3 separate regions of the Homo sapiens genome follow, and regions 2 and 3 are each linked to region 1. The links are contacts of gene promoters, found by promoter capture Hi-C in blood cells and fetal thymus (Javierre and others, 2016). All regions are on one chromosome and are shown on one strand. The core of a region is centred on a gene start or on the middle of the fragment in contact, and the rest is flanking DNA. Distances in the headings are between cores, read along the strand shown. Region 1 holds the start of ABI1 (abl interactor 1). Region 2 has its middle 100 kb from the start of GAD2. Region 3 has its middle 100 kb from the start of APBB1IP.

Region 1 (2,798 bases), core at 83-2,582:
GCAATTTTTAATTTGGTTGAGTGATGTTTTTACTCCTAGTTATTTTGATTCTAAATGACTTTATGGAGATACATGAACATATGTCCAAAGTCTTTGGACAACACTTTTCATAGCTGATTATATCCGAAGCATTTAATGTTCCTGTTGAAGTGAAGAGCTTGAAATATAGGGCCTTTTGAGACTATTCCAAAGCAGGTGATAAAAACAAAACAAAACAAAAATCCAGGAGCAAAAAACGAAGGATCAGGGTGGGTGGCTCATGATTGTAATCCTAGCAGTTTGGGAGGTTGAGGCAGAAGGATTGCTTGAGGCCAGGGGTTCGAGACGAGCGAGGGCAACATAATTTGATCCCTGTCGCTATAAAAAATTAAAAAGCTCAGCCAGGTGTAGTGACCGACGCTTGTAGTCCCAGTTACTCTGGAGGCTGAGGCAGGAGGATCGCTTGACTTTAGGAGGTCTAGGCTGCAGAGACCCATGATTGTGCCCCTGTACTCCAGGCTGGGTAACAGTGAGATCCTGTCTCAAACAAGCAAACAACTCCCACCCCTAAAAAAACGTGCACATGACCTTAAAAGTGTAGGAAGATTACATGATAAGGAGAGTCAGAGAAAAGAGAAATTAGGACAGGAAAGCACTACAAGCTATGTATGTTTATTTTATAATTGAGTCTTTAAGGGTACGGAGTATTCGTACTCAACTTGTACCCCCAGTGTCTAGTACGCTGCTTGGTAAACAGCTGGCAATCAAGAAATGTTTGCTAAATTTTAAATGAATTGATGGGGGCGGAACTTCAGAAAGTAAAGCCTGACTCGCTTTATTTCTAAGAAGGCAGAGGAAGTAAAAATCTAGTTTTCCGTACTCTGTCCCCTTTTTAATCCTTCTCTGAATGGGTGTCCTTGATTCACTGACATTTCCTAATTAACCAAGTTCTGCCAAGTTTCACATGAAACTTGGGGAACCGATTTCATTCCCCCAGTATCACCCTGTGGCGCCACCTTCCGGAGCTGTGAGGAAACTCCGGACTTCCCCCCAACACCGCCCCCTCCCTCCACCCTCGGTCTCCGCTTTCTGCGCTCTGCCGCGTTGGTTTTCGGAGGTGTCTGGGCGCATGCGCTTTGGACGGGCCGCCTAGCCTAGGAGAGACTACAATTCCCAGAAGACAGTGCGAAAGAAAAAAAAAATCCCGCGGTCCGTGGGGGTGGGAGAAATAAACGCTCGCGAGAGAACGAGGTTCAGGCGGCTGCACGAAGGGGGTGGAGGGGGGCTGGAGAGAGTGAGGAGGAAGGGGAGGAGGTGCCGTCCCACAATACCAGGCGGGAGGGCGGGTAGGCGGTTTGTATCCGGGCTGTGAGGTGCTCGGAGCCTCGGCGGACCTTGCTGCCTCTGTCTCTTTAACGCGAGAGGAAGCGATGCAGAGGGGTGGAAAATGGCAGAGCTGCAGATGTTACTAGAGGAGGAGATCCCGTCTGGCAAGAGGGCGCTGATCGAGAGTTACCAGAACCTGACTCGGGTGGCAGACTACTGTGAAAACAACTACATACAGGTGAGGCGCTCTGGCGGCCGGCGGGCGCTGGCCGGGTCGAGGACCCGCCGGAGTGACCAGCCCACTGGGCGGGGTGGGGAACTGCCCTGACCTCAGCGGCTGCCACCAACCCGAGCCCCTACCGCAGCCCCAACCCCAGCCCCAACCGGGGACAGAGCGAGTGGCCGGGCTGAGGGAGTCGGGCTGCGATACAGGAAGTGGCTGTGGTGGTGGAAACCGATAGAAGGGGAGAGAGAAAATGGGCGAGGGAGCCGGGAGCCCGCCGCTGCCGCAGCCCGGCGCCCCCCTCGCGTCCGCTTCCCCCAGGGCCCGGCCACCGGGGTCGCGCGCCCCCCAGGTAGCCTCCAGTCCGCAGGGCTGGAGTCCCGGAATACCCCCGAGCTGCCGCCGCGCCGCCTCTCTGCGCCGGGAGAGGAGGTCCAGGACGGGAGAGGGGAGAGGAGAGGGCAGGGACGAGGCTGAAGCCGCAGAAGGGAGAGGACCAGCGGGGTGTGTGTTGTGTGTCGGCGGAGGGTGGGGTGGGGGCGATTATGTCAGTTTCAGCCCCCAGAGGGTGTGTCTTTTATTTATTTATTTATTTAAAAAAAATTTGTCATGAGTCACATTACACCGACCTCCCGGAGGAGAGGAGGAAGCGGGTGTGGGGAGTGAGGGAGGGCGTTTGAGAGAAGTTCATCTTAAAATTCCTTTAATTGAAGGTTTGTAAATCTGTCTGCTTGTCCATTTTCAAGTCGGGTTTTTTTTATTTTTTTCCCCCTCTCATCGTTTTCACTTCCGCCCCACCATAATGTATTCTAAGAGGTTGTTAGGGCTGCTATCATTAATTATCAAACACGAATTGTTCTTAACTCCTTGGAAAAACGGCTTACCCTCCCTTCTCCCAAAAGTTCTTGAGCTGTAGGCTTCATAAGTAACTTAAAATAGACTGGTGTCATCGCCGGTTGCTTATTTTCTGAGGTTTCTCTCTTAACAAGCTAAGTAAATGTATAGTATGTGAATCCAAATACAGAAACGAACAGAGGTAGCCTCTGAACTACAACGTAAAAATATCTGTTATTGTAAATTAGAAAACTCTTGGGACTTTGTGACAGATGCTTGTTTGTTCGTTTCTCTTTGGATGATTGGAAGTGAATTGTGTGTGGTAGTTTGTTTTGAAGATCTTTAACTGTGTAAACCAACAGTTTGCGCTAGAAACAAAGTAGCACAGTCCTTTGTATAAATATAAAGGCACCAGGAATGCTCTTGCTTTTGGTAA
Region 2 (2,798 bases), core at 103-2,602, 540 kb after region 1:
TTCCCAGGCTTAAGTTGGAATCTCCAATTAACTTACAGTTAGTTCTTGCAGTCATTATACGAAAAAGATACTTGCACACACATGTTTCTAGCAGCACAATTCACAATTGCAAAAATGTAGAACCAGCCCAAATGCCCATCAGTCAACTAGTGGTAAAGAAACTGTGATATATATATATATATGCACACACACACACACACACACACACACACACACACACACACACACACACAATGGAATGCTACTCAGCCATAAAAAGGAATGAATTAATGGCATTCACAGCAACCTGGATGGAATTAGAGACTATCATTCTAAGTGAAGTAACTCAGGAATGGAAAACCAATCATCATGTGTTCTCACTCATAAGCAGGGGCTAAGCTATGAGGATGCAAAGGCATAAGAATGATACAATGGGCTGTGGGAACTCAGGAAGAAATGGTGGGAAGGGTGTAAGGGTTAAAAGTCTACAAATCAGGTTCAGTGTACACTGCTCGGGGGATGGGTGCACCAAAATCTCACAAATCACCACTAAAGGACTTAATCATGTAACCAAATACCACCTGTTCCCCAAAAACCTATGAAAATAAAAAATAAAAAACAAAATACCTTACAGTTAGTTCTTGGAAGTAATCTAGTTACTGAAAGGCAGGATATTATCCCTGTTAATTGCCTTGAAATAATGATGACTGTGATCTTATTGAGTTTTATAGGTGAGAAGACAATTATTTTCCAATTTTTAATGTCTCTATATGTCTGATGGTGGGTGGAGAGAATGGAAGAATTTGTGGGGAGTAAATGTCTTGTCAATAGAGTGACTAAACCCTTTCACTGCATGTTTAGTAGATGCCTATTAACAAGACATTGGCTTCTTCCTTAGGGACTAATTACTCTCGTTCTCTTCATCTCCTTGTGTGTCCTCATCACAAGAAGCCCCAGACTCCCAGACCACCCCTCACCACACAGACTCTTACTCCCATAAGGCTTTGTGCACACTCCAGCCCCATCCATCTTCTACTCCTGAAGCCTTTCCACTGGGCAGTCTTCACCTAAATTCCCCACATCCCCAGTGTCTTTTCTGAAAATGCACTTCTTCTTGCATTAATTCAAACCTGGCTTTTCCTCGGCACTCTGCTTCTCTGAAATCTATGCAGCTGGTTGCTGGCTAGTTTTCACTCTCACAGACCTGGAACCAGCAGGTTTGAAAGTAGGGTTACTCTCCTGGGCCCCTTCTGTTTCTAATTCCATCCTCCTCCTCTCCAATTCCCTGCAGACCCCTGTCTTTGAATCTCATGCCATTGGACCATGCAACCCACTGCCCTTCCTTTCTGCAGGCATCTATAGGCACTTTCAGATACTTACTCACTTTTCGTCGATTGTAACATCTGATTCATTGTCATCCCAACGCAACTCCTGCTTTATTCTTGGTGATTTCAATAGCCACACGACTGGTTCTTCAGAAACCTACACTGAGGTTGTAGCTATGTGAGGTATCAGCCTTATGGGGGAAGAGTCTCTGTTCAGCAGGCATGGAGCTTGGTCTCCTTTCTCCCAGGAAGCCATGAAACCAAAGCTCAGATCCACAAAGTTTGGCAAATAAACTCAAGGTGAAAACTGGCTTAGTGCTAGGCTTATTTCTCTGGATTTCTGCCTTCATGAAGCTCCTAACCTGGAGTATTTTTTATTTATTGCCAGATCATTGATGTTTTTAAGAATATGTTTAAATATATTATCTAACAATTTTAGCTGGTTTCAACCAAAAGGAAGGTAAGGGAATCTAGTCCACAATATTACCAAAAAGGTTTCATTATATCTGTGATGATTTTTTAAAAACTGGCAAAATGTTTTATCATTTCATAACATGGGTTTACATCGATGATACAAACATTTTTCAAAAGACTTTTTTTTTTTTTTTTTTTGAGACAGAGTTTCGCTCTTGTTGCCCAGGCTAGAGTGCAATGGCACGATCTCGGCTCACTGCAACCTCTGCCTCCTGGGTTCAAGCGGTTCTCCTACCTCAGCCTCCTGAGTAGCTGAGATTACAGGCATGTGCCACAATGCCCGGCTAATTTTTTGTATTTTCAGTGGAGACAGGGTTTCTCCATGTTGGTCAGGATGGTCTCGAACTCCTGACCTCAGATGATCCACCTGCCTTGGCCTCCCAGAGTGCTGGGATTATAGGCGTGAGCCACTGCACCTGGCCCAGAGGCCTTTTTTGGCAGGAGGGCTTGCTATGTTGCCCATGCTGGCCTTGAACTCCTGGGCTCAAGCAGTCTCCTGTGTCAGCCTCCTGAGTCGTTGGGACTACAGTCATGTGTCACTCAAAGATCTTTTTTTTTTTTTTTAATTACAGATTAAAAAAATTTTTCAATAGCTTTTGGGATACAAGTAGTTTTGGGTTACATAGATGAATTATAAAGTGGTGAGATTTTAGTGCACACATCACCAGGGTAGTATATATTGTACCCTGTATGTAGTTTTTTATCCCATACCCCCATCCCATTCTCTGTGATGATTTTTTTTTAACCTCCTGTTTTTTTCTGTTGTATTTTCTTGGACCTCTTGGCTTGATTGTATAATTTTCTCTAATTTTCTCTTGCATTTTCCATCTTATTGTCTATTTTTTCCTACTTTTAGAGATTTCCTCAACTTTTTATTTTTATCTATTGCTTTATTTTTAAATTTCAGCAACCATAATTATTTCCATATTAGTTTTTGTATCTTATAAACGAAATATAGTCTTGACACTCTCTAGTACAATGACTTCTTAAATTGCCTTAATGACACTCATTAGAGTTTTG
Region 3 (2,798 bases), core at 109-2,608, 520 kb after region 1:
GTGTTATGGGGGTTTGTTGTACAGATTATTTCATCAGCCAGATACTAAGCCTAGTACCCAGTAGTTATTTTTTCTGATTCTCTCCATCCTCCCACCCTCCACGCTCAAGTAGGCCTCAGTGTCTGTTGTTCCCCTCTTTGTGTCCCTGTGTTTGCATCATTTAGCTCCCACTTGTACGTGAGAACATGCAGTATTTGTTTTTTCTTTTCCTACATTAGTTTGCCGAGGATAATCCTCTCTAGCTCCATTCATGTTCCTGCAAATGACATGATCTCGTTCATTTTTATGGCTGCATAGTATTCCACGGTGTTTGTGTACCACATTTTCTTTATCCAGTCTGCCATTGATGGGCATTTAGGTTGATTCCATGTCTTTGCTGTTGTGAATCGTGCTGCAATCAACTTACATGTGCATGTGTCTTTTGGTACAATCATTTATATTCCTTTGGGTATATACCCAGTAATGGGATTGGTGGGTCAAATGGTATTTCCATGTTTAGCTCTGTGAGGGATCGTCATACTGCGTTCCACAATAGTTGAACTGATTTACACTCCCACCAACAGTGTATAAGCATTCCCTTTTCTCTGCAACCTCACTAGCATCTGTTATTTTTTGATTCTTTAGTAATAGTCATTCTGACTGCTGTGATATGATGTCTCATTGTCATTTTGATTTGCATTTCTCTAATAATCAGTGATATTGAGCTTTTTTTCACATGCTTGTTGGCCACATGTATGTATTCTTTGGGAAAGTGTCTGTTTATATCCTTTGCCCACTTTTTAATGGGGTTGTTTGCTTTTTCTTGTATATTTGTTTACGTTTCTAATAGATGCTGACTATTAGACTTTTGTCAGATGTTTTCCAAGTGTTTGATCCTAAGCTAGGAGTAAGTGCTGTGTTTACTTTCATCCTCTGTTATAACAAGTTCTAAAATATATTTTGTAAAGGTAATAGTTACCTATATGTGAGATAAAATGTATGTATTTTAACTCAGGTTTTCAGTTTGTGATCAAGCCTCCTTTAATCTAGAATGATTTTGAAATAGCATAATCTGTATAATATTAATATAGAAATTAAAAAGAAATTATTCAGGCAGATAGTGAGGGTAAGGAAGTCCTCGGTAAGGTTTTCCTTTTAATGAAAAGCAGCCCCCAAATCATTTCTTTTCTAACAAAGAGCAGCCTTAAAAATCGAGCTGCAGACATAGGCAAGCAAACTGGAAGCTTGCGCGGGTGAACGACAGCAGCTTGGCCAACAGGAAAAGGCTACGTGGGGCCAAGTATGTTCAACATGGAGGCTCCATCTTCCCTTTTCTTTGTCAACCATGTGTGCAGTAAAGAAGCCGACATGGTGCTGGCCAGGTAAAGAGTCTATTTGCATAATAAAATATTAGAGTGAGGCAGCCAGCTTCTTCGCATGCTATGTAAACAGCACACCTGGCCCAACCAATCTCTTGAGTCCTATGTAAATAAGACACCACCTCCTCAAGCTTGGCTATAAAACCCCATGCATTTCACCTCAGAACCAGAAGACCCACTCTGGCACCCCTCTGTCTGCAGGAGACAGAACTATTCTATTTTTTTCTTTCTTTTGCCTATTAAATCTCCACTCTTATACTCACTTCTTATGTATTTGTGTCCTCAATTCCCCTGGTGTGAGATGATGAACCTTGGGTATTTACCCCAGACAATGATTCTGCTTCAAGAGTTTCCATAAAGGCAATACTTTTATAAGTATTGACACATTTTATTAAATGCAATATAATGCATCTACCAGTAATGTTTTATTTTGCTCAATATGTGGCTTAAAGACAGTTTTCCATTTTTTAGATCATTCATCAACATTTGAGGATCCAACTGTGTTAATGGTCACCTTTACTAACAGTAATGTACAGCATCAAATAAAATTCCTGTCCCTTATGAGTTTCTGAGTATTGTCTTCTGTGTAAACATTGGTTATTCTTATTTATTTCAATTATTTCAACTTTTATATTCATAAAATATTTATCAGCACCTACCATGTGTCAGGCACAGTGTGGGTACATGAATATAATAGAGCATAATCCCAGGCCTCAAAAAACCCACAGCCTGAGGAGGGAAACAGCCAAATACACAAATAAATTGCTCACATGCTTAGGTGTTTGCAACCATTCAGGCCTAGGCACAGAACAGGCCACACCCTGTACTAGTATACTCTGTGTAGTGCGTTGGGGAGTCCAACATAGTTGGAGAGGCTGGAAGAGGAAGTGGTGGGTGACTTGGGGCTTGGAAAGGAGAAATTGTCAAGAGCTTAGGTTGGAGAGATAAGAAAGAACTGGATCATAAAGGGTTTGTATGTCATGCTCGGGAATTTGGACTTAGTTTTGCAGATGTAAAAAGTTTTAAGGAGGGCAGTTATAGGACACTTTGGTGAGAGAGTGGGAGATGGTGTGAAAGGTGGAATGTTGGACCAGGAGATTAGCTCTTTGAAAGTATCATTATTCAGCCAGGTGCGGTGGCTCACACCTGTAATCCCAGCATTTTGGGAGGCCGAGGCGGGTTCATCACCTGAGGTCAGGAGTTCGAGACTGGCCTGGCCAACATGGTGAAACTCCATCTCTACTAAAAATACAAATAAAGAGATAAAAAAAACTAGCAGGGTGTGGTTGCGTGCACCTATAATCCCAGCTACTCGGTGGAATCGCTAGAACCAGGGAGGCGGAGATTGTGGTGAGCTGAGATGGCACCACTACACTCCAGCCTGGGCTCTGTCTTAAAAAAAATAAAAATAAAATAAAGAATCATTATTCTTTTTTTTTT

What was found. The method cuts DNA at HindIII sites, captures the fragments that hold promoters and counts their contacts. A CHiCAGO score of 5 or more calls a contact.
Region 2: a fragment that was not itself captured here is called in contact with the fragment with the promoter of ABI1 in region 1 in 1 of 17 cell types (total CD4 T cells); the score reaches 5.2 in total CD4 T cells.
Region 3: a fragment that was not itself captured here is called in contact with the fragment with the promoter of ABI1 in region 1 in 5 of 17 cell types (fetal thymus, total CD8 T cells, neutrophils and 2 more); the score reaches 7.4 in fetal thymus.

Annotation. Positions count from the first base shown.
Region 1 is chr10:26,859,492-26,862,289 of GRCh38, reverse strand. It overlaps ABI1 (abl interactor 1), which reads left to right and starts at 1,332. Exons shown (of 11, transcript NM_001012750.3): 1 at 1,332-1,543. The coding sequence starts at 1,427. RefSeq lists an enhancer at 1,090-1,289 and silencers at 1,610-1,699, 1,810-1,959. The HindIII fragment of the contact is 3,622 bases long and covers 1-2,798 here.
Region 2 is chr10:26,320,308-26,323,105 of GRCh38, reverse strand. No RefSeq gene overlaps it. Among named protein-coding and RNA genes, the nearest start is that of GAD2, 100 kb to the right of the region's middle. The HindIII fragment of the contact is 3,191 bases long and covers 1-2,798 here.
Region 3 is chr10:26,336,597-26,339,394 of GRCh38, reverse strand. No RefSeq gene overlaps it. Among named protein-coding and RNA genes, the nearest start is that of APBB1IP, 100 kb to the left of the region's middle. The HindIII fragment of the contact is 266 bases long and covers 1,226-1,491 here.